Linked DNA regions of Homo sapiens: all the other regions are linked to region 2. Evidence: promoter capture Hi-C in 16 types of primary human blood cells and fetal thymus (Javierre and others, 2016). All regions are on one chromosome and are shown on one strand. Each heading gives the region's core, a stretch centred on a gene start or on the middle of the fragment in contact. The rest is flanking DNA. Distances are from core to core; before and after follow the strand shown.

What was found. Contacts are between HindIII fragments. The CHiCAGO score rates a contact against its expected background, and 5 or more counts as called.
Region 1: a fragment that was not itself captured here is called in contact with the fragment with the promoter of NOCT in region 2 in 1 of 17 cell types (total CD4 T cells); the score reaches 5.4 in total CD4 T cells.
Region 3: a contact is called between a fragment that was not itself captured here and the fragment with the promoter of NOCT in region 2, in 1 of 17 cell types (M2 macrophages). The highest score is 5.5, in M2 macrophages.
Region 4: a fragment that was not itself captured here is called in contact with the fragment with the promoter of NOCT in region 2 in 1 of 17 cell types (endothelial precursors); the score reaches 7.1 in endothelial precursors.
Region 5: a fragment that was not itself captured here is called in contact with the fragment with the promoter of NOCT in region 2 in 6 of 17 cell types (total B cells, naive CD8 T cells, naive B cells and 3 more); the score reaches 8.4 in total B cells.
Region 6: a fragment that was not itself captured here is called in contact with the fragment with the promoter of NOCT in region 2 in 2 of 17 cell types (endothelial precursors and M2 macrophages); the score reaches 5.2 in endothelial precursors.
Region 7: a contact is called between a fragment that was not itself captured here and the fragment with the promoter of NOCT in region 2, in 7 of 17 cell types (total B cells, total CD4 T cells, naive CD4 T cells and 4 more). The highest score is 7.8, in total B cells.

The regions. Positions count from the first base shown.
Region 1 is chr4:139,676,759-139,679,880 of GRCh38, reverse strand. It overlaps MGST2 (microsomal glutathione S-transferase 2), which reads right to left. Exons shown (of 5, transcript NM_002413.5): 2 at 1,239-1,338. Among named protein-coding and RNA genes, the nearest start is that of MGST2, 13 kb to the right of the region's middle. The HindIII fragment of the contact is 1,221 bases long and covers 779-1,999 here.
Region 2 is chr4:139,014,344-139,017,219 of GRCh38, reverse strand. NOCT (nocturnin) reads right to left here and starts at 1,439. Exons shown (of 3, transcript NM_012118.4): 1 at 1,049-1,439. The coding sequence starts at 1,238. RefSeq lists a silencer at 1,000-1,299 and enhancers at 1,440-1,789, 1,822-2,743, 1,880-2,876. The HindIII fragment of the contact is 5,482 bases long and covers 1-2,662 here.
Region 3 is chr4:138,186,215-138,189,201 of GRCh38, reverse strand. The region is part of intron 6 of SLC7A11 (solute carrier family 7 member 11); the gene reads left to right. Among named protein-coding and RNA genes, the nearest start is that of SLC7A11, 55 kb to the left of the region's middle. The HindIII fragment of the contact is 5,238 bases long and covers 1-2,987 here.
Region 4 is chr4:138,054,082-138,056,981 of GRCh38, reverse strand. The region is part of intron 7 of LINC00616 (long intergenic non-protein coding RNA 616); the gene reads left to right. Among named protein-coding and RNA genes, the nearest start is that of SLC7A11-AS1, 33 kb to the left of the region's middle. The HindIII fragment of the contact is 897 bases long and covers 989-1,885 here.
Region 5 is chr4:139,628,088-139,631,247 of GRCh38, reverse strand. No RefSeq gene overlaps it. Among named protein-coding and RNA genes, the nearest start is that of QKILA, 6.4 kb to the right of the region's middle. The HindIII fragment of the contact is 178 bases long and covers 1,329-1,506 here.
Region 6 is chr4:138,233,657-138,236,572 of GRCh38, reverse strand. It overlaps SLC7A11 (solute carrier family 7 member 11), which reads left to right. Exons shown (of 12, transcript NM_014331.4): 2 at 122-248. Among named protein-coding and RNA genes, the nearest start is that of SLC7A11, 7.2 kb to the left of the region's middle. The HindIII fragment of the contact is 1,156 bases long and covers 916-2,071 here.
Region 7 is chr4:139,660,004-139,663,060 of GRCh38, reverse strand. No RefSeq gene overlaps it. Among named protein-coding and RNA genes, the nearest start is that of MGST2, 4.3 kb to the left of the region's middle. The HindIII fragment of the contact is 5,469 bases long and covers 1-3,057 here.

The DNA of each region.
Region 1 (3,122 bases), core at 140-2,639, 660 kb before region 2:
GGACATGCTGGCTCCAAACCAATACTTTCCACTTGACTTAACCATAAGGATTCAAAGATAATTGAAATGAGAATGACTTCTCATCATGTAGTTCAATGTTATTTAAAACCAAGTCTACACACCTCTTACAATTATCTCGTGTACTCCCGGTGGTATTCACCCCACGCTTTCAAGCCTAGGGAGTAGTCTGTAAAACCCTCCTTGGAGCAAGTGGATAATCAAGAGACCAATGTTATCATCTCAAGGACCAAGGCCTACCAAAATTGATTCAAGATGTAACAAAAAGCCTGCCTAGTCCAATAATCATTAAAGAATGCAAATCCCATAATTTAAAAATTTCCCACCAGAAAAACATTAGGCCCAGATTATTTTAAGGCAAGTTCTACACAACCTTGAAGGAACACACTCTTCCAACCTTATTAAAATTATCTGAGAAAGTAGAACAGGATGCTTCCTCCAACTCATTTGACACTAGGTTCATCTGTATCAAAATGAGACAAGAACCAGACAAGAAAGGCAAAGTGTAGGCCAATCTCACTTGTAAACATAAATGAAAAATCCCAAGATGGTAACAAAAGAACCCAATGATATATCAGTGGTGACGCATGAAATGTTTCTTAAAGCACGTATTTTGGGGGATGAAATATAAAGTACGCCCTAGCATTCCTGCAGCAGGCAAGTTCACGGTGTTTATGGTGGAACATTTTGTGTGGGTCTGAAAAAACAAGGAGCACAAGATGATCAAAAAACATGGCGCATGCATGTGAGCTGGCAAGCTTTCTCATTCTTACAGGTTTCTGATTTTAAGAAATGGTTCACAGAGAAACTGGCAAAAGATTAATCCTGATCTACCTCTGTTTTGAAGTAGGGAGGAAAAAATAAGATAGAAAATTGTAGCATAACGAATCCAACTTCAGACTATTGTGGTCTCACAAGGCTCCAGGGGGCCTCTTTGACCCAGTGACCCTCCTTGGGAGACACAGCAGTCCCTCCTGAGATCCCAGCCTTTTCTGTAAATATACCCTGCTGAATTGGTAATAGATGTGGGCAGAGACTTCATGCCCCGAACCCTTCAAACTTTCTGGATTCTGAGAACGGTCTTGGCTGTGAAGAGTGACTTGTTATAACTAGATATTGCACATGAACTTAGGGTCTTCTCCATATCCCTTTCCCCTAGTCAGGAATTGTGTCTGTATGGCAGGCACAGATCCATGAAGGGTGGAAGAAGCATTACTTACTGTGCCCGAAATACTCTCTCAAACTCTGGTGACCCAGTGACTGCTGGGGGCGTAACTTTGTATTTTAATCTTGCCTTTCCAACTTGCAAAGCAAAATAACCTGCAAGTAAAGGGAAATGTTGCGTTAAAGATGGGGCACGTCATTAGTCATTAGTGGAATGCAAATTTAAATCACAATTAGATAGTACTACATACCTATTACAATGTCTAAAATCAAAAAGACAGATGATAGCAATTAAAAAAGACAGGAGAGGATATGAGAGCAACTGAAACTTTCATACAATGCTGGTGGGAATGTAAAACGGTACAACCACTTTGAAAAACAGTTTGGAAGGGAGTCTTTTAGTTAGACATACCTCCAATGTATAACCCAGTCATTCCATTCATAGGTATTTCCCTAAGAGAAACAAAATTGTATGTCCATACTGTAGGGGCCAAAGCCCTTGGCCCCCTGGAGGTTCACTGAAAATCACTGACATGAGGCAGATTAATTAACAGACATTAAAAGAAAGATCACACACATTTATTTCATATGTATACATAGCAGCCTTCAGAACAAAGACCCCGCTCCACAGTGAGGTACAGAAGTTCATATGCCATCTTGAGGCTACAGAAATGTGAAAGGAAAATAAATCTCAGGACCCCAAAATCACTAAGCCAAGGGAAAAGTCAAGCTGAGAACTCCAGCAGGCAAACCTGCCTCCCATTTTAATTCCTAAATAAGATAGCTACAAAGCACAATTTGCCCACAAGGAAAAGCTTATCTTCACAGGTGCTGGACAGAAAGTCACCCTCTGCTCATCTGAGACAAACGCATATCTGATTGCTTATGTAAAAATGTGCCGATCACGGTGGCTCACGCCTGTAATCCCAGCACTTTGGGAGGCTGAGACGGGTGGATTACCCAAGGTCGGGAGTTCGAGACCAGCCTGACCAACATGGAGAAACCCTGTCTCTACTAAAAATACAAAAAATTTGCTGGACGTGGTGGTGCATGCCTGTAATCCCAGCTACTCAGGAGGCTAAGGCAGGATAATCACTTGAACCTGGGAGACAGAGGTTGCAGTGAGCCGAGATCATGCCATTGCACTCCAGCCTGGACAACAAGAGTGAAACTCTGTCTCAAAAAAAAAAAAAATGCAGATTCACTGAGCCAGACTAAATTGTGTATTCAGTGAAAGGCTTATCAAGGACTCAAAAGAATGTAACCTTTATCTCTTATCTATCTATGACCTGGAAGCCCCTGCTTTGATTTGTCCTGCCTTACCTAGACCAAACCAATGTACATGTTACACATACTGATTGATGTCTCATGTCCCTCTGAAATGTATAAAAGCAAGTTGTACCCTGACCATCTTGGGCACATGTCATCAGGACCTCCTGAGGCTATGTCACGGGCATGTCCTTTTATGTCACGGGCATGTCCTTAACCTTGACAAAATAAACTTTCTAAATTGGTTGAGACCTATCAGATATTTTGGGTTCACAGAAGCAATGCAGGCTCAGAACATGGCCAAAAAAACAGGTTATGGTGGTAAGTCAGGTTTTAGTGGCAAGACAGGATATGGGAGGGGAAGAAGAGGAGGCTCAGCTAGCCAAGGGAGTCATGTTATACAGACGAAATCTCACAGATAGCAGCCCCTTAGAGAAAATAGATGGTAAGTGTTTCTTCCAGATCTTTACAGGTGTCAGACTCCATTAATCTCTCCCAGATCTGGACAAGGGAAGGCCTTGCTGCATTCATGGAGATTCTCCACAATGCAAAGTTCCCCCACAAAAAACAGCTTTGCAGGGCCATTTGAAAATCTGTCAAAGAAATCTATCTTGGGTAAAATATTTTTATTTCCTTCAGTACAAAGAATTGTACACAAATATTCACAGCAG
Region 2 (2,876 bases), core at 190-2,689:
TATTGCCTAGTTTTGAAAGAAAAAATTTATCAATTTTTAAAGTATAATTAATTTGTATGTAATTTGTGGCCATGGTAATGTGTGCCCAGGCAGAAACAGAGGTAGCAAAAAAGGAAAACTCAGGGTAGTTATTATGATGTATGAAAACAGCTCTTGGTGAAACTAAGGCCTCACTTTTACAAGATCTTAGATACACAGGACAAAAAATGATGTTAACTATAAAGAGTGGAAGCCTCCAAAAAAAAAAAATCCAAAGAAACGTAAAATGGCCGAGCGCGGTGGCTCACGCCTGTGATCCCAGCACTCTGGGAGGCTGAGGCGGGTGGATCACGAGGTCAGGAGTTCAAGACCAGCCTGGCCAAAATGGTGAAACCCCCGTCTCTACTAAATATACAAAAGTTAGCTAGGCGTGGTGACTGGCGCCTGTAATCCCAGCTACTCGGGAGGCTGAGGCAGGAGAATCGCTTGAACCCGGGAGCGGGAGGTTGCGGTAAGCCGATATCGTGCCACTGGACTCCAGCCTGGGTGACACAGTGAGACTCCATCTCAAAAAAAAAAAAAAAAAAAAAAAAAAAAAACAACGTAAAACGAATCAATGTGTTATTATCACGACTTAAAAAAAAAACTTAATATCTAGACCATGAAAGCTATATAAGCAAATAAGCATCATTTAGATTTTTTTTTCCATAAAAATTTCCGTTAAGTCGTGCAATAAAAAATGTAACCAACATAGTAACTCGCGGCCTCGGAAGGGGGAAATTTAACGGTCAAGAACAAGAAATTCTGAAAGCATGGCCTCTAAGGGTCAAGCGGGAACCTGAATACAGTCTCCCAGTTCTTACTAGCTTTGATGCAAGCCCCAGGCAAGTCGGGGAACAGGGAAAGAGGAAAAAGGGAACGCAGAAGGTTGCTCCGGTAAAGGACCCACTTTCAGGCCAGACTCCACGACCGGCAGCCCCGGGCTTCTCATTCATTCCGCGCGGTCTCCAGGTGGCGGCCGCGCGTTGGCGGCCGTGGCGTTCTCCGCCCGGAACTGGGGTGCACTCACCTGTTCGGGAACACGACCTCGCGGCGCCCGAGGCCGCCGAGGCCGCCGCCAGCAGCCGGGGGGATGCGGGCCTGGGAACAGCAGCCGGCGGGGACAACGGGCGGCGCAGCCCTGGGGCGGGCAGGCGGCGCAGGCCGGGCGCGTCCCTCTGCAGCAGGGCCGAGCAGAGCCGCCGCGGACTATGAAACATGCCGGGCGCCGCCGCCACCACGGCCCCTCGCGCGCCCGAGGAGCGGAGCCCGGCTGGGGCCGAGGGCACCGAGTCGAGCCGACTGTCCGGGCAGTGTGGGCGGATGCTCCCAGGCTCCTTCTCGCGCGGCGCAGGTTCTGGGGAAATCCCGGGCAGCAGAGCCGGAGAGGGAGGTGCAACACCGCTGCGTCGGCACCGTCTGCTGTGAGACCTGGCGAGACCTGCAGGGCGCCCGGCGAGCGCTGCGCGCTGACAAAGCGGGCGCTACCAAGCGGGAGCTGGAGGGGAATCCGCGGGACCCGGCCACTGCGCGGCCACGCCAGGCTCCCTCGACCCGGCGTAATCCTGTTTTAAAAGGAAGCGGGGCTTAGGCTGATTTATAGATAGAATCCGCAGGCGGTCTAAAATAAGAGGTATCCGTTGGAGCTGTTCTGAAGAAAAAAGCGTCCCCTTCCGCTGGCCAGCATGGAAGCGCCCACAGGCTGGGAATCCCGAGACAGTTCCAGGGCTGTGGCCCAGGGGACACGTGTCTGTCAGAGTGGCAGACGGCCTACGTGTGTGCCTGCGCGGGTCTGTGTGGATACAGCAAAAGGCGTCCGCCTCCGACCCCCTCGGCAGTGTGTGATGCGTTAAACGATATTAAGCACAATAAAGCACCGCCTGTGGGCGAGGCGACGATGATTAAAACAGCGTTCTTTTCCTCAAAAGTGTTATACTTAGGCAAAGGGAGCAGAAGGTGGCAAGGGAAGTCAGACCAGAAAGCTCTACAAGGTAGAATGAGATTATTGCCACAAGATGCCAAAGATTGGCTATAGAGATGACAACAGGCCCGGGCTCTCTAGAAGGTTCATTAGAAGGATTGGCATTTGAGTTGGCCTATGACGTGGAGGTCTAGAATTTACCCACGTGAAACTTTGGAGGGGGTGGTGGTGAGTTATAAATGAAAAAAGTAAATAAGGGTGTATTTGGGGAAACAACTCTTAGTCATGTAAGATGGAAGCTAAGGAGTAAGAGGACAGATGCGTGGATAGGTTGTAGTGTGGAAGGAAGGGGATTATAGTAGGCTTAATTCGGTGGATAGCTGCGAGCCGTTGACGTTTTGTAAGCTGAGCAAAGACATGGTCAGGGCTGTGCTTTAATTGGAAATCACATGTCTCTGGTTCATGAAAAGGCAGAAAGGAAATCAGCTGAGATAACAGATACTGTAGACCCGCACCAGGTTACTGTTACTGGAAAAGAAAGGATGGAAGAAACATCTCAGACAGGCTGGGCAGGAAATGATGACTAATCAGGAATAGAAATGGGATGAGGGGGAGGGAAAACCCAAGACTGGATTTTTCTCTGAATGATTCATGAGTTAGAAATGTATTCTATTGGTTTTCCCATGATTTTGCTGATTCCCCTGTGTTGTGGAATTGCAAGCTTTTCATCACAAGAATATTCTAAATATTTTTCAGACCTAGGTTACATATCTAACACCTGTGGATAGAGGGTGTGGACAGATCAGCTGGCACAAGTTGATTACAACTTCTGGCAGACAAGCTCCTTGGAAGTCATTAAAGCCTCAGTTTCAGTTTCCTTATCTATAAAACATAGAATCATACCTTAGTCATTAGGTGAAATAAAAAATGATAATAA
Region 3 (2,987 bases), core at 475-2,974, 830 kb after region 2:
TATAGGGCCATTTTCATTTCTGGGGAGGCCTATCACTCGGAACAAAAATGCTTCTAAGCACATGTTTTAGAGATTTCCATTTAACAATTTCAAATAAAGCAAGTATGTGTGACGTAGACTGGTTGTAAGTGCCAATTTAAAATAAGCCCATAAGAAAAGAAGACTATCCAAGACCTTTTCGACTGAAGACCATTTACAACTAATAAAAATAGCAGACTCTCACATACTTAATGCCTGTTAATTGAAAAGAGCATATATGACAAAAAGCTGTTAGGATTAAGTAACTCTTGTAAATGGTATTTCGTTAGTCATAACAAACATGTACTAACATTTGAGAAAGAATAGAACTTAATTTTGTTAAGAGTGAGTCATTTTTACTCAGCTTAAAAATTATGCTTTTGTTGCATTTAGGATTGGTGGATACCTCACAAGAACACAGAGGCTTTGAAATATCCGTGGCCTACTGGTTCCTTCCTCTAATTCCCTTCATTATCAAGTGCCATTTGCCTTAATCTTGGGTTACTAGTAATGCTATCTGCGCTGTGCGTCTAAAGCCTCCAGAAAGATTGCTCAGGCATGGCCTAATAGCTTTTATCAGTTCACCCAGTGGCTCTTACACTTTGATACCTGAAACCTAGAGTTAACTGTGTAGGACCAAGCTCTTCTGAAGGAGTCAACTGCTCTCCTCTGTCAATAATGGCTGTTTATGCCAAAACAGCCAAGAGAACCTCCCCACCCCCTTCCCTCTGTCAAAGTGAAATGGAACCTAAGAATGGAAGCTAGTGGCTATTTTGCCATACCCCAACCAACTTGCTATTGCTTAATTCCATCTAATTATCAGCTGGGCGTCGTGGCTCATGCCTGTAATCCCATCACTTTGGTAGGCCGAGGCAGGAGGATCACTAGAGGTCAGGAGTTTGAGAACAGCCTGGCCAACATGGTGAAACCCTGTCTCTAATAAAGATAAAAAAATTAGCTGGGTATAGTGATGGGTGCCTATAATCCCAGCTACTGGGAGGCTGAGGCAGGAGAGTTGCTTGAACTTGGGAGGCAGCAGTTGCAGTGAGCTGAGATTGTGCCCCTGCACTCAAGTCTGGGCGACAGAGTGAGACTCTATCTTAAAAAAAAAGAAAATTTTTTTAAAAAAGAATAATTATAGAGAAATTACTGGATATGCTGTGCATTGCAACAAGATTAGACTCTTTCTCCTTTGTTTATATTTTAAGCTGTTATTTTTCTCACTAATATCTGTGTAGTATATTTGGCTGATAGTAAGATTGTTAGTCTGTTTCTGTTTATCTGAGGCATGGTTACCTTCCCTCCTTCTCTATAAAAAAAAGTTTTTTTAGGGAAATTTATTGTGAGCTTCTGTTTTCTTTTAAATAATACATAATTTTAAAATTCTATTTCCCAAACAGTGAAACGATTTGAAAACATTCACTTGACATTACAATTCATGTTACACAGAAAAGTGATAAAAATCATGAAATCAGTTTGCCCCCTTCTTTATGATAGATAAAACTGTAGTGTTAAAGAATACATGAGAAATACTAGTTTGATAAAAGCTCTAATAAACTTTATATTAAACAACCATGATTTTCCTTAAAAGTAATAGAGTTGAGGGACCCACATGCTTGAAAGTGAATACACTTTGGTGGTCCAAATGCCCGAATTTCAAGGTAGGGTGTGTATGCACCTGAATTCTGGGGCTTCCACTTACTAATTGTGTATCCTTAAATAGTTATTTAAGCTCTCGAAGACTTTATTTTTCTCATATATAAAATGTGCTGATGTTCCTAACTCACAGAATTTTCTAAGGACAAAAGGAGACACGTATGTAAAGTGCCTAATAAAATGTTGGGCACATAGCAGCCCAATGGTAGCAGCTGCTCCTGTTATTTTTGTTATTAACAAACAGAATGAAGGGAAACCAACCTAGAAGGTTAGATTTTCTAGGTTCCCTTCTGCTTAGATCAATTTAGGAAACGGCCCTCAGAGAGACTGTAATGTCTAGGCAGGAAACAGGCAGGGGGCTGACTTGGAGGAGCTGGACTGGGAAGGTAAATTCTATGCTGGGAGAGCCACAATCCCAAATTTCAGACTTACTTCTTTCTGCTATTTTGCAGCATCATGTGATGTGACCGTACTCTCTGTTTTGGATAGGTTACTTCACTGCAATTAATAATGTCACTTCATTTTTTATCAATGGAAACTTTATATACCTTAAGCATATGCTTGCAAGGAACAGAGAGTCTTTTTCTCTTCTTCTTTTCCTCTCTTCCTCTCTCCTCCATAGAAAGAATTTACTCCCCATATGGGGATCTTATAAAAGCTGAAAGGATTCAAGGTCAAAATAATACACTGAGTGGTTGAAAAGCTGTGTATACACCTTCATGTTCTCCTTCTTACCCTTTTGCATTTACAATAGCCCTTCTTACGAAGAAACAGAATTCATCTTTAATTTGCTTTATGCCATTTATCCTTTTATATTTGATTGGCTCAGTGATTTTCTTTACTTAAATGTAGCATTTATCAACCACAACTAGCAGTGCATGTTATAGTGTTAACAGAAAATTCCACAGGACCCTCTTCACACTAGGGAAGGGGACCATCTGCTACTTTCATATTAGGATGTCAGGATTTAGAGGTCAATGTGTTTCCTCATCAAGGCTGAAGGCTTTGGGAATCCGGGGAAGTGTCAGGCTCCAAGCAGCATAATGAATGACAGTTGCTGACTGGCTAGGCTAGCATGTTTTCAACAGGGGATATCGCTGTTCGGTATAATGTGCTGGGACTTAGTGTGCTAAAAACACCCAGCTTGGGTAGTGAGGCAGGCTGTGCCTTTTCCCCCCTGATTCTGAACTGCATTTTCATCTTGGAAGAAATTATATTGAGGTCTTCATTAGTGGCACCCAGCAGGGTGAAGGCTCCGTGAGGGCTGATAAGCACTATGGCTGAAAAACGATCAGCCTTTGTGCAGGCAGTTG
Region 4 (2,900 bases), core at 188-2,687, 960 kb after region 2:
AAGTTTCCCACACTATCAGGAACATGGGAGTTCCTGCAAGTTCCTGCAAGAGTTTTCTGCAAGGCAGCTTCAGCAGTGGTTCCAAATAGGAGTAGCAGCAGTGGGACTCCAGCAGCTCCAGGTGGGCAGGGACCGTGGCTATAGGTGACACTATACCCCTTCTGCTCCTCTAGCCTAGGATGGTGGTTGCTTCCTGCAGATACCAATCAAGGAAGTTTACTTTTCTCTTTTGGCTATTCTAGGCTTTCTGACCCTTTTGTAACTATACCGTGTATTAAATTTCCTCCAATTGAAACACCAGTTGAAGTTTCTGTTACCTTAACTAAACAATGATACATGATGGAAGGGCAGTACTTCAGAAACCAAACTAGTTTTGCTTTTATCTTTGTTTCCACACTGACTCATATGTAATATAATTTAGTATTATTTATTTTTGATATCATATATGTAGAATACTTTCATTGATTTCATACATGATATAAAATGCAAAAAAGTTGCATGATAAAATATATCTTAAATCAAAATAAGAATATAAATCAAGAAAGAAATATAAATTTGTATTTCATAGTTTGATATATTAAAGTACACTAGGTCTTCTTCGGAATTAATGGATAGTGTATAAGTAATAACATGACTTAAATCAAGATAAGAATCACGTGATAAGCCAGTACACTTTCTTTCTCCTGACAACGCTTTTTTCGGCACATATAGAGAAAAAATTGTAATTATACTTTAGAAAATCTCTTCTAATATTGTTTACTGGATTCCAAGTTACACATTGTAATATTTTCATGACTTGTCACAATGAACCCATTAATAGGTATGACATTTCCTGATTATGTTTGAAGTATGATAACATATTTCTCCAATGAGTTGCAAGGAATCAAGATGTGATTCATTAAGCATGCTTATGAGTTGTTCACATAATTACAAAGAGAAACCATCCACATGAAAATAAAAACACAATTTTAGGCATAGGAGAAAAGCTTAACTTCTATGACTATTAGCTCCAGTGAAAGATGGAATACACCGAGAGAGAAATATACTGGGTGGACACAGCATTATGGAAGAGAATGTGCCTCCCTAGTTTTGTGCATTTCTGTGCACTCTCGTAGCTAAGTTCCCCACACCCAGAAATAATAGATGATGGTATCAGAAAGGTCTTTAATCCAGAATTTTCCAAGTATGACTAAAAGATTTGTTGTGAAAGATTGAGATTGTGATCAGAATTGGAACTGTATATATTACTACACATTAAATTAGGCACTAATAAATATATATACACATACATAATTAGATATTTTCAAATGGAATTTCTGTTTTTCGCTTCTTTATATGTGACTCCTCCCCTTCTGGATCAGCGCAGATTGCCCTAAGTGGTGTAGCATAGCAGAGTGTAGGCTCTGGATGCAAGCTGCCTGGCTTCATTGCCTGGTTTCATCACTAACTGTGTGGTCCTGCATGAGCTAATTAATCTCTCTGTACCTCAGTATCCTCATTTGTTCAATGTTGTGAGTATAAAATGAATAATACATACAACTACTTAGCAAGATGTCTACATCAGTTGCAGATTATTTCCAAGCAGCACATTACCATATTAGGATTGTTATAGCTGAAATGCAAAGAGAACAAAAGAGTCAAAGTCAACCCCTCACCCTTTAAAATAGGCTCTTGAAGTCCATTTCTGAGATTATATTACTAAAATATGGGCTTTCAGTAGCAAACGACAAACACTTGAAAACAGTTTTCTAAATTCCAGATTTTTCCCTTTAAACATCAAGAACAAAAGTATAGAGAATTGAACATGACATTTTTACTATAAACTATAAAATAGGAAGGATAGCTTCGGGACAATTTCCTGCCAAACAGGGATTAGATAAAAGCTTTCCTCAGCTAGAGGAAAGCATTGGAACAAGAAAGAAAGAAACACTTTGAGGCTTCAGTGAGAAGCTCACTCCCACATCTTTGGTAATTTCAGGGAGAAGAGGCATGTTCTCTGTTCCCTTCCGGGAGGCAAAGCTTCATTATGCTCTCCAAATGGGATGCCCAAAATGTTTTATCCAAAGGTTTTGGATTTTTCAGGCAGAAAGAGGGCTTGAGATAGTGTCTTCCACTACATCTCAGAGTTATGAAAGACCTGGTGTAAAGAAAATCAAGAAATTGCTTCATGCCTTAATGGAACATGTGGATTTGCAAAGAAGGTTGGTAAATCATAGGAGACCTAGGTTGAGATGAGCAAATACAATGTGTAGATATCAAGGCTATGCTACGGGTTTTGGGTGCCAGCAAGGATGCTTGTAGGTGTGCAAAGGCAAGATGGGACCACTTTACGTTAGATGTAGATACAGAAAGAACCAAGGTGGCCACAAAAAGACTCATGGGAAGAGTAATAACAGTCCATTGGAACCTGAGAAGAGCCCTTGTAAAATACATTCCCGCGCGACCTCTGTTGTGATACTCTGCTAGCAATTTTTTACTCTCAAAAGCTTTCTCATGGAGGAGTAAGGCAAGAGGCAAGCATATAAGAAATATGTGTATGTATTGTTGCTACAGAGTTTGAAAAAGGACTTGTCGGAGTTTTGTATCTCTATTAACAAAATAATTACCTTGAGATCTTTTCCAATCAGATGTGGCTGAGTTACCTGGAGAAGCCTGCATTACATTTTTAAAAGAAGGCTCAGAGAATAAGTTGAATGCAGTAGGGAGAAATACGGAAAATTGCATATTTGCACATCTGACTCATAATGGATAATTTCAAACCTTCTATAAATAAAAGTTTTACAAACACTGCACAACACATACTTCTAAGCCCTCTACACTAAGACTTGTATATGTGAAGGACAGAAAAGGAAAGGGGTCCTCTTCTGGGGTGCTTCTCCTCTTTCATATGCATTGTCTCT
Region 5 (3,160 bases), core at 168-2,667, 610 kb before region 2:
CAGCTAACTAACCGAGAGTCACAGAGCAGGCTGACCACCAGCTCCTCTATTGTTCCTATCGATGGAATCTGTGACATTTGACCTTTTTACCCAAGAACTGCTTAAAGTGTTTTTCAGAACCTGAATTCCTGCAGAACGGCTGCCACCAATCGGTTTAAAGACCCCCACCAAGAAACTCACTCAGCACAGGAATGTTGTTTCTTCATCTCCCTGTCCCATGACTTCACTCCTCACTTCTGGACCAATCAACAATCCCCACACTTTAGCCATTTGCCCATACAGAGCCCTTAAAAACCTCATCCCCAATCCTCTCAGGGAGGTGGATTTGAGGTTTCCTCTTGTCTCCTCATTTGGCTGCCCTACCATTATTAAACCCTTTCTCTGTTGCAACTCCTTCTGTTTTGGTGTATTGATCTATTACTGCACAATGGGAAATCAAACCTGGTGTTCCTATAATATATATGATCCTCTGGCCCCCTCTTGCAAGCCTATAGGGAAATACTCTTAAATTCATGTACAGTGAATGTACATGCAGCATGCAGTCCTCTTTTCACAATCCCTGCCCCTGTGGCATCTCATTCTTATTTTTAAAAGTCTTTTCAAGGTATTTCCCAAAGAAAAGAGTCATCAGTCTTTATGATGAATTCTGCTCCTTCTCAGAAACGCATAATTGCAATAATCATAGAATTATTTTGATAAAGAACTTCATAATGTTGCTGTTACTCAAGACAAAATGACATCATGTAGGTGACAGTGTCGGAAATCTGAAAAGCACTTTTGTAATTCAAGTATAAAAGGAGAGAAATATTACATACAATCCCACAACCTAGTCTAGTTAAAAGATGATCCAAAAACTGAAGATCCATTGGTCTACAAGTCCTCAGACATGGCAAACTTGAAGAAACTGGGCTGTGGCTACATGCAATGCTCAGTTGAATGCATACTTAAATAAATGAAAGAAGTGTGCATAGGGTGTAACACAAGGAGATACTTAACTAGGCAGATTTTAGCCATTCCATTGAAAAATGTTTCAGAATCATCATGGAAGCCAGGCTAGGTTGGAGAATGAATGGGAGTGAGAAAATGGAGAAATCAGCATGGCTTTTGTTTTCCTAGAAGTTGAGTGTGAAAAGGAGAAAGACAGCATAGTAACCACTTAGTTTCAGCCATAACACTCCATGGCATGATCCACACTCTCCTCTGAAGTCTGGTTTTTTCACACTCATCCTGTCTCCTAGAGAAGATCCTAATAAAGGGTCCCTTCCAGCATCCAGCTCTCCATTCCTCAAGTGCATTGGGCCATGTCAGACCATTTCCTGAGTTAAGCTTAGTGTAACTGGAGAGACAAGTAAAAGGGACAGGCGTGCAAACATGGAAAGAAAAGCAGGGAGGTATGCTATGGACTAGACTGTGTCCTTCCCAAAAACCCTATGTTGAAGCCCTAATCACCACTGTGACTGTGTTTGGAGTTAAGGCCTTTTAGGAAGTGATTTCCTTAAAGAAGCTTCGAGGATCACTTGAGATTAAATAAGGCCAGAAGAGGAGGGCCCTCCTCCAATAGGACTGGTGTCTTTATAAGAAGAGGAAGAGACACCAAAAGGAAAGGCCATGTGAGGACATGGCAAGAAGGCAGCTAGCCGCAAGCCAGGAAGAGAGGCCTGCTGGCACCTTGACCCTGGATTTCCAGCCTCCAGAACTGTGAGAAAATAAAGTTCTGCTATTTAAGCCACCCAGTCTGTGGTATTTTGTTATGGCAGCCTGAGTAGACTAACATAGGATGGTTAAGAAAAACAAACAAACAAACAAACAAACCTACAGTCATCCTTGGTTATATACAGGGTATTGGTTCCAGGACCCCCACAGATATCAAAATCCGAACATACTCAAGTCCATACTCAAGTCCTACAGAACCCATGTGAAAAGCCAGTCCTCAGGTTTTGCATCCTGGGAATACTGTATTATCGATTAGCTTTGGTTGAAAAAAAAAATCCAAGTATAAGTGGACCCTTGAAGTTCAAACCCGTGTTGAACTGTACAGTGCAGGGGTCAACTGTAATAATAAAGGAGGAGGAGGGGGGAGGGATAGCTTTAGGAGATATACCTAATGCTAAATGACGAGTTAATGGGTGCAGCACACCAGCATGGCACATGTATACATATGTAACTAACCTGCACATTGTGCACATGTACCCTAAAACTTAAAGTATAATAATAATAAAATAAAATAAAAATAAAAAAGAGCAGTAAAAAAAATATAATGATAATAATAAAGGAGGGAACTTGTACTTTGTACTTTTCTTCACAATTTTGGGTAGGTCTGGCTCTAATGGCATAACTTGAGAGAGAAAGGGAGAAGGGGAGTATGTGACACATGTCAATCTGTCACAGCACAGGACACCGGCTCCCACCGGCCTCACCCTCCCTCCCCATCCCTATTTGCTGTCCTCCACTCCCTGGGCTTCTTGGCTGCTGGTCAGCCTCAGAGGTTGCTTAGTTTTAAAATATCCCTGCTTAGACGGCTAATGTTCCGTGGTGGGACTCGTGGATTTTTTTTTCTTCTGATTTATGCTAGGATCAAAAGAAGCTTTAGAGTCTTTCCTGTTGCTATCGACCCATTGAGATCGGCTCTGCAGCCAGAGGCCTCGCTGTGATCCGCCGAACGCCAGGGATTAGTGAAGATTCCACAAGAGATTTGAACAGTACCCAGTGAGTACACCTTGCATTCGTCTTTGAAAGTATATTATGGACCCAAAGTGGTGTATCACCCACAAATTCTTCCTCCTCCTTTTCTTTCTAACCTTAGGGGAGCAAGGCATTAATTAGTTAAACAGTCGAGCAGCTCAAAGGTTTCTTTTCAGCAGCAATGGCTCACGTGGCTGCTTCTCATATGGACAGGTTGCTGCTGCCAAGCGGGGGTAAGGGTGGGCAGCACTTACAGGGAGTGCTTGTTTAAACAAGGCCAATTTCCAGCCTACTTTGCAATGCAAATGCTTTCAAGAGCATCCCGATTGCTCCTCAGAATTAGCTGGAATAAAGACACTTAGGAGGGATGTAGCTTGGTTTGTTTCCAGCCTTTTCTTCTTATGGCTGAAACCAGTTTCTTCAGATTATTATTTGGCTTTGATGTGTTCAGAGTTTATATCATAAGGAAAATCATTTT
Region 6 (2,916 bases), core at 244-2,743, 780 kb after region 2:
ATTCAGACCAAAGGAGGCAGTTACATCTCAGGCAACATATAAACATTATTGTATCTATTCTAATGCTGGGTGTCTTGAAAATGTATTAAATTGGTACCATTTTGTGACAAATATTTCACAGGAGCTTTGTCTTATGCTGAATTGGGAACAACTATAAAGAAATCTGGAGGTCATTACACATATATTTTGGAAGTCTTTGGTCCATTACCAGCTTTTGTACGAGTCTGGGTGGAACTCCTCATAATACGGTAAGAGCATAGTAGAAAGAATTAAGAAAAAATAAACCAATTCATTCTTATGAATCACCTTGATTATTTTTAACTGGTTAGACACATGCATGTCATGTGACTACATGATAAACATGTCTACCTCAGGATATAAAGCCTGTGATAAAGTACCTTTCTGAATTAAGATATTTTTAATGCAATTTTATCACTGACAAGCAGTTCACCAGCAATGCCAAACTTTTAGAAATATCTACCTTTCTTTGACCCTCAGCTATTCTCTTTGACACTTCCAGGAGAAAGATGCTTACTTGAAAGAATATGAACATGAAAATTCACCTGGATACCTTTTGACCAACTAGACCAAATTAAATATTGAAGTTTTCTCTTATTGTAGATTATATCATTAAGGCATTTAACTTTACTTAGTCATTGTGACCAAGACACTTCTGTGCCTCACAACTTAGTTGGTCACCAAGTCTTATACTTCATAAAAAACAGAGTTTGCATGACAGAGTCAAATGACTCATTTCCTTATATTAAACAGATTAGGAACTACAGTTCCAAAAGTCTTTTTTGATTTTATTGTTGTAACAATGTGTTTACATTCCTGCTTGTCTTGGTTTAAAATCACACTGAATAGTGCTAAGTCACTCTGAATAGCAAATTTCCTTCGACTTTGTGGGAAGCTTATGATGTCATATGAGCATTTCAGAGTATCACAGTTCCTTAAGGCTAACTACTTTGATAAAATGTGATGTGCACAGTCTGATTACAGAATTTAATGGATATTACTAGGGAAACTTGCTCTTATCAAACTTATCAAACATATGTGATTGAGAGTTCATGTGAGCTTTTATGGCTAAGTGCCAAATACAGTGCTAGTAAGTATTGACAACACTAATCATGAGTTTTACAGTGTTAGAAGTCTTTTTTTTTTTAACCAAAAAAAGATCTTCAAAGTAGTATATGCTTCATGAAGGCTTTTTCATTTTAAACACTCTGCATTATTTAAAATTGTTATAATGAAATAATAATAAGTATTTTTTTCCTTTCCTGAAATTCCTCTATCAGGAATGCACTTCTATTCCTTTTGGTTATCTCAATCTTATCTGCTCTTCAAAGGTCATCTTAAATCCTTTCTTTCCCACAATTAATTTCCTGTTTATTCTAATTTATGTTATTTCTTTCATCTCTAAATTCTTCTGAAAATTCTATCTCTGCTTCACATTTGGCATTGAGCATGATACCTTCTATTCTTCCTTAATATTTTAGGTGTCTATATTTTGTTTCCCTTTTAAAACTGCCAACATTTCAAGCATACAAAGATAAGATCTTTTTGTAACCCATATACTACTTAGGTCAGTGCCCTTTTTTTGGCATATATTAAATTATTTTTGAATAAGTAATTGAAAGTTTAAAGTTACAATATATTGTGTACAACATACTCAGCATTCAAATGCATGTACTACTTATTGACTGCTGGCCTGTCAGGCTGGCGGGCTTTGGAGCTTAATACAGTTGGACTTGACTCCGTCTTCAGCCATGTATTAGTTGTGTAACTTTGGCTCATTGCTTAGCATTATGATGAACATGATCATTCCATATAAATATAGCTTATATCTTACAGTAGCACAGATAAAATATTCATATATTAATTTATTTATTCCACAAACTGCTACTGAATGGTAAATGGCAATAAAAAGAGATCTAAAATGAAATCAGCCACAATTTCTGCTCCCAGGTAGCGGATAATCAAATGTTACTTTAATTTAAAAAAAAAAACTACTTTTCTCTGTGTGTGTGTGTCTGTTGACAGAGGAAAGTACCTTTGTATTCTAGAAGCTTTTAAAATATGTTCATATATCTCTTTGTCATAACATACTCATATTGCTGAGTTGGCCTTTTAAATAGGCAGAATAACAAATGACATGAGGAGGGACAAAATATCTAAGTATGTAAATATTTCTCTTCTTTTACTAATACCCATAGTTCCTAAGTACTTCCCATTAAAATTATACCTTTAGATTAAGTTAGTATTGCCAGAAATAATCTGTAAAACACAGATTTCAAGGACAGAAATATTATCTATCTGTACACAGCAGGGGTCATTAAACCGAATTTGCGTGTGCACTATATATTCAATATATATTGGGTTTCCACTATATGATAGACACTGTTCTAAACACTGGAGGTAAAACTGTGATTAAGATAGATATGATTTTGTACCCTTAGAGCTCAGAGTCAAGTGGGAGGAAATCATTATCAATCGAGAAATCACATAGGTAAATATAAAATTGCTATTGTGATAAGCACTGTGGAAGACAGGCCAAGGGCTTCAGTATGAATATACTCCAAGAGATCTGGCCCAGTCATAGGTTGGAGAAGTTTTCCCCTGGGAAAGGAAAATTGAACTAAGATCTGAAGTATAAAACATAGTCAATTAGTTGCAGAGGCTGCAGGCAGAGAAGATTCATATCCTTCTAGTGGGAAGAAGCTAACTGAAGAAGTAGGGAGAGCTTAGACCAGATGGAGCCTTGAATGCAATGTGAAGGCTTTTTGCATATCCTGAACATATTTTGAAAGCACTAAAATGACATAATCAGATTTTAAATTATACATAAAAAATTGTATAAATGATGGAGAATAGGATAAACAGTTTTGTTTGGGGAAGATGGGAGGGTGTCTAGGA
Region 7 (3,057 bases), core at 78-2,577, 650 kb before region 2:
AATCCTGAGGTTCCCTACTGACTTCTCCCAGCCAATCTTAAGTCAGTCCCCCAAATCCAGATTCTAAGAGATGGTTGACACAAAGTAAAAAAATAAAAAATCAATTAATCAATAAAATCTCAAGTGCTTCAAAACCCCACGTGTCTATTTAAAAAGATCTTCATTGTCGGTATATGTAGTTATTGCCTCTAGGAAAGTATAAAAGAATAGAGCATTGTATAATGAAATGTTTATCACCTTCTGCAGTGATAAAATTTCCAGGTGACCCACAGCTGAAATACTGCCATAGCATTAACAAAAACTCACAAAAATTAGAGTTTCTCTGTACGTTTTCCCTGGATTGGTTGAAGAGGAATGGCATTTTCCCTGAATGTTGTTCCCATAGATCCTTCTAGTATGTTCCATTTATTACATTTTTCTATGAAAAGGAAAATAAGAGGACAAACAGCATACTGGTAATTGCTATGGTCTGAATGTTTGTCCCCTCCAAAACTCATGTTAAAATTTAACTTCCATTATAATGGTATTAAGAGGTAGGACAATAAGGGGTGATTAGGCCATGAGAGCTCTGCTCCCATGAATGGATTAATGTTGTTATAGGAGTGGATTGTTATAAATGTGAGCTTGGCCCTCTCTTGCCCCCCCGCTTTGGGATGACATAGCACAAAGGTCCTTACCAGATGCCAGCACCTTGATATTAAACCTCCTAACCTCCAGAACTGTGAGAAATAAATTTCTTTTCTTTATAAATTACCCAGTGTGTGGTATTCTGTTATAGCAACAAAATGGAATAAGACAGTAATGATAGTAAAATGTTTTTAAAATATTTTTATTATCTATGTAAACTCAAAAGAAACCTAAAAGACTTTCTGAGGACTTTGGTTACTACTGAATCACTGTTACCAAAACTATACTCTAGGTAAGGTGAAACAGAGAGGCCAAGATTTGATCACATAAAAACAAACCTGAACCATGTAAAAGAACTGCTTTCATGAAATGTGAACTCTAAATGTAACTCTTTCAGTATAATTTTGGTAATAGATGAAAAGAAATGATATATTAAACTATAGAAATGTTTTTCCTCAGCCGGGCATGGTGGCTCACACTTGTAATCCCAGAACTTTGGGAGGCCAAGGTGGGTGGATCACCTGAGGTCAGGAGTTCAAGACCAGCCTAGCCAACATGGTGAAACCCCATCTCTACTAAAAATACAAAAATTAGCCAGGCATGATGGTGCACATCTGTAATCCCAGCTACTGGGGAGGCTGAGACATGAGAATCACTTGAACCCAAGAGGTGGAAGTTGCAGTGAGCCGAGAATGCGCTACAACACTCCAGCCTGGGTGACAGAGCTTGCTCTGCCAAGCTCTGTCTCCATCTCAAAAAAAAAAAAAAAAAAAAAAAAAGGTTTTTCCTCAAACCAATTGCAACCCCCGCAAATTATTCCCTGGTCTCACCCTCTCTGTTCACTTGCTACCCTTCCAAAATTGACAGCACATCATCCAGGTTTCTGCTGAGCACTACAGCAGGGCTGTCCTCACTGCCATCAGGCCAGGTAGCAGAAAGAGACAGAAAATACACCTCTTTCCCAGGAACTATCAGAGTGATCATGATTATCAATGACCACATAACTCTCCATGTACCCAGAGTTCATTACATTATCTTGCTAGAAGTCCTGACTAGTTGAAGAATCTTGTAACTACACAGCAGTTTTTCTGTGTTTTGTTTTGTTTTGAGACAGGGTCTTACTCTATCACCCTGGCTGGAGTGCAGTGACATGATCATGGCTCACTGCAGCCTCAACTTCCAGGGTTCAAGCAACCCTCCCACCTCAGTCTCCTGAGTAGCTGGGTTTAATAGTGGCTTTAACACAGTAAGTTTTTAAGCAAAGCTCAGATAAACACAATTTGAAATTATGCTCCATTTTGCTACATGTTGCAAAAATTTAGGAAATTTTAGTCATCCTACGGAATATTTTCTCCCATTTCAGAAACTGCAGCATTTTGCTTTGTAGCCCTGAGTGTGAAGAAATGAGCTAAAGAAGGCAAAGGCATTTTATTCCCATTGAGGAGACTTTGCCCTGGACCAGACAGGGCAAAGGGTTACAGTTGAATGCCAGCTACCTTCCAGCAGAAACTGCCCACTACCCAGCACCAGTAATGACATATCAAGGCTCAAAGATAAAGACAGAAAAAGAGAAGAAAGGCAAGGAAAATAAAGATCAGTTACCAATGTAGTGTAGAAAAAAAGAGTACAAGGTTTAAGCTCCTATCTCTGTGTCACGGTGGAAAGTTGCTAAACTTCCTGGACATGTGTTTTCAAAGGGAAATAATAATACTGACCTTGCAGGGTTCCTCTGATGAATAAAGGAAGTCATGTGAAGGAAGCAAATAGCACAGAACCCGGCATGATGCTGGCTGTCCACAGGTGTCACCACCCTGCCCATTCTCTCTGCCATCCTGATGCCCTCCAACCCTGGGCGAAAGCAGAAGAGACTAGGCCTATTTGTTGAAAAGGCCATATTACAAAGCAACAGATGATTTTAGAATGCCATTAGAATTTCTGAGACAGCACAGATTTCCCAGAAGAATAGAAACAGAACATTTGAATTGCTTCAAAATGGCTTTTGACAGTAATAGAGGGTCTCAACCTGAGTTGTCTTAAGTTTGCATAAGGCTTAGGAGAGGATAAAATAAAGCAGGATCTAGAGATTGGTGAGGAGAAATAGAAGTCCCCATTCTTGACAGCTCTCAGCACATGCAGCCCTCCCCACACACACAAAGTCACACACACACACATCCAGATTCATACACATTCCTACGCACACACACCCACACTCATAAACACCCACACACACGCACACACACTTGTGCACTCACACATTCACATTCATGTACTCCCATCACACATTCAAAACACACACTCATACACTTACATACTCTACAAAAACTTACGTTCCAAAAGGAAATTTGTAAGCTGAATGTTTAGACCTCAGAACACATATTTTCACAAAAATAATATTATGGCCAGGAGCGGTGGCTCACGCCTCTAATCCCA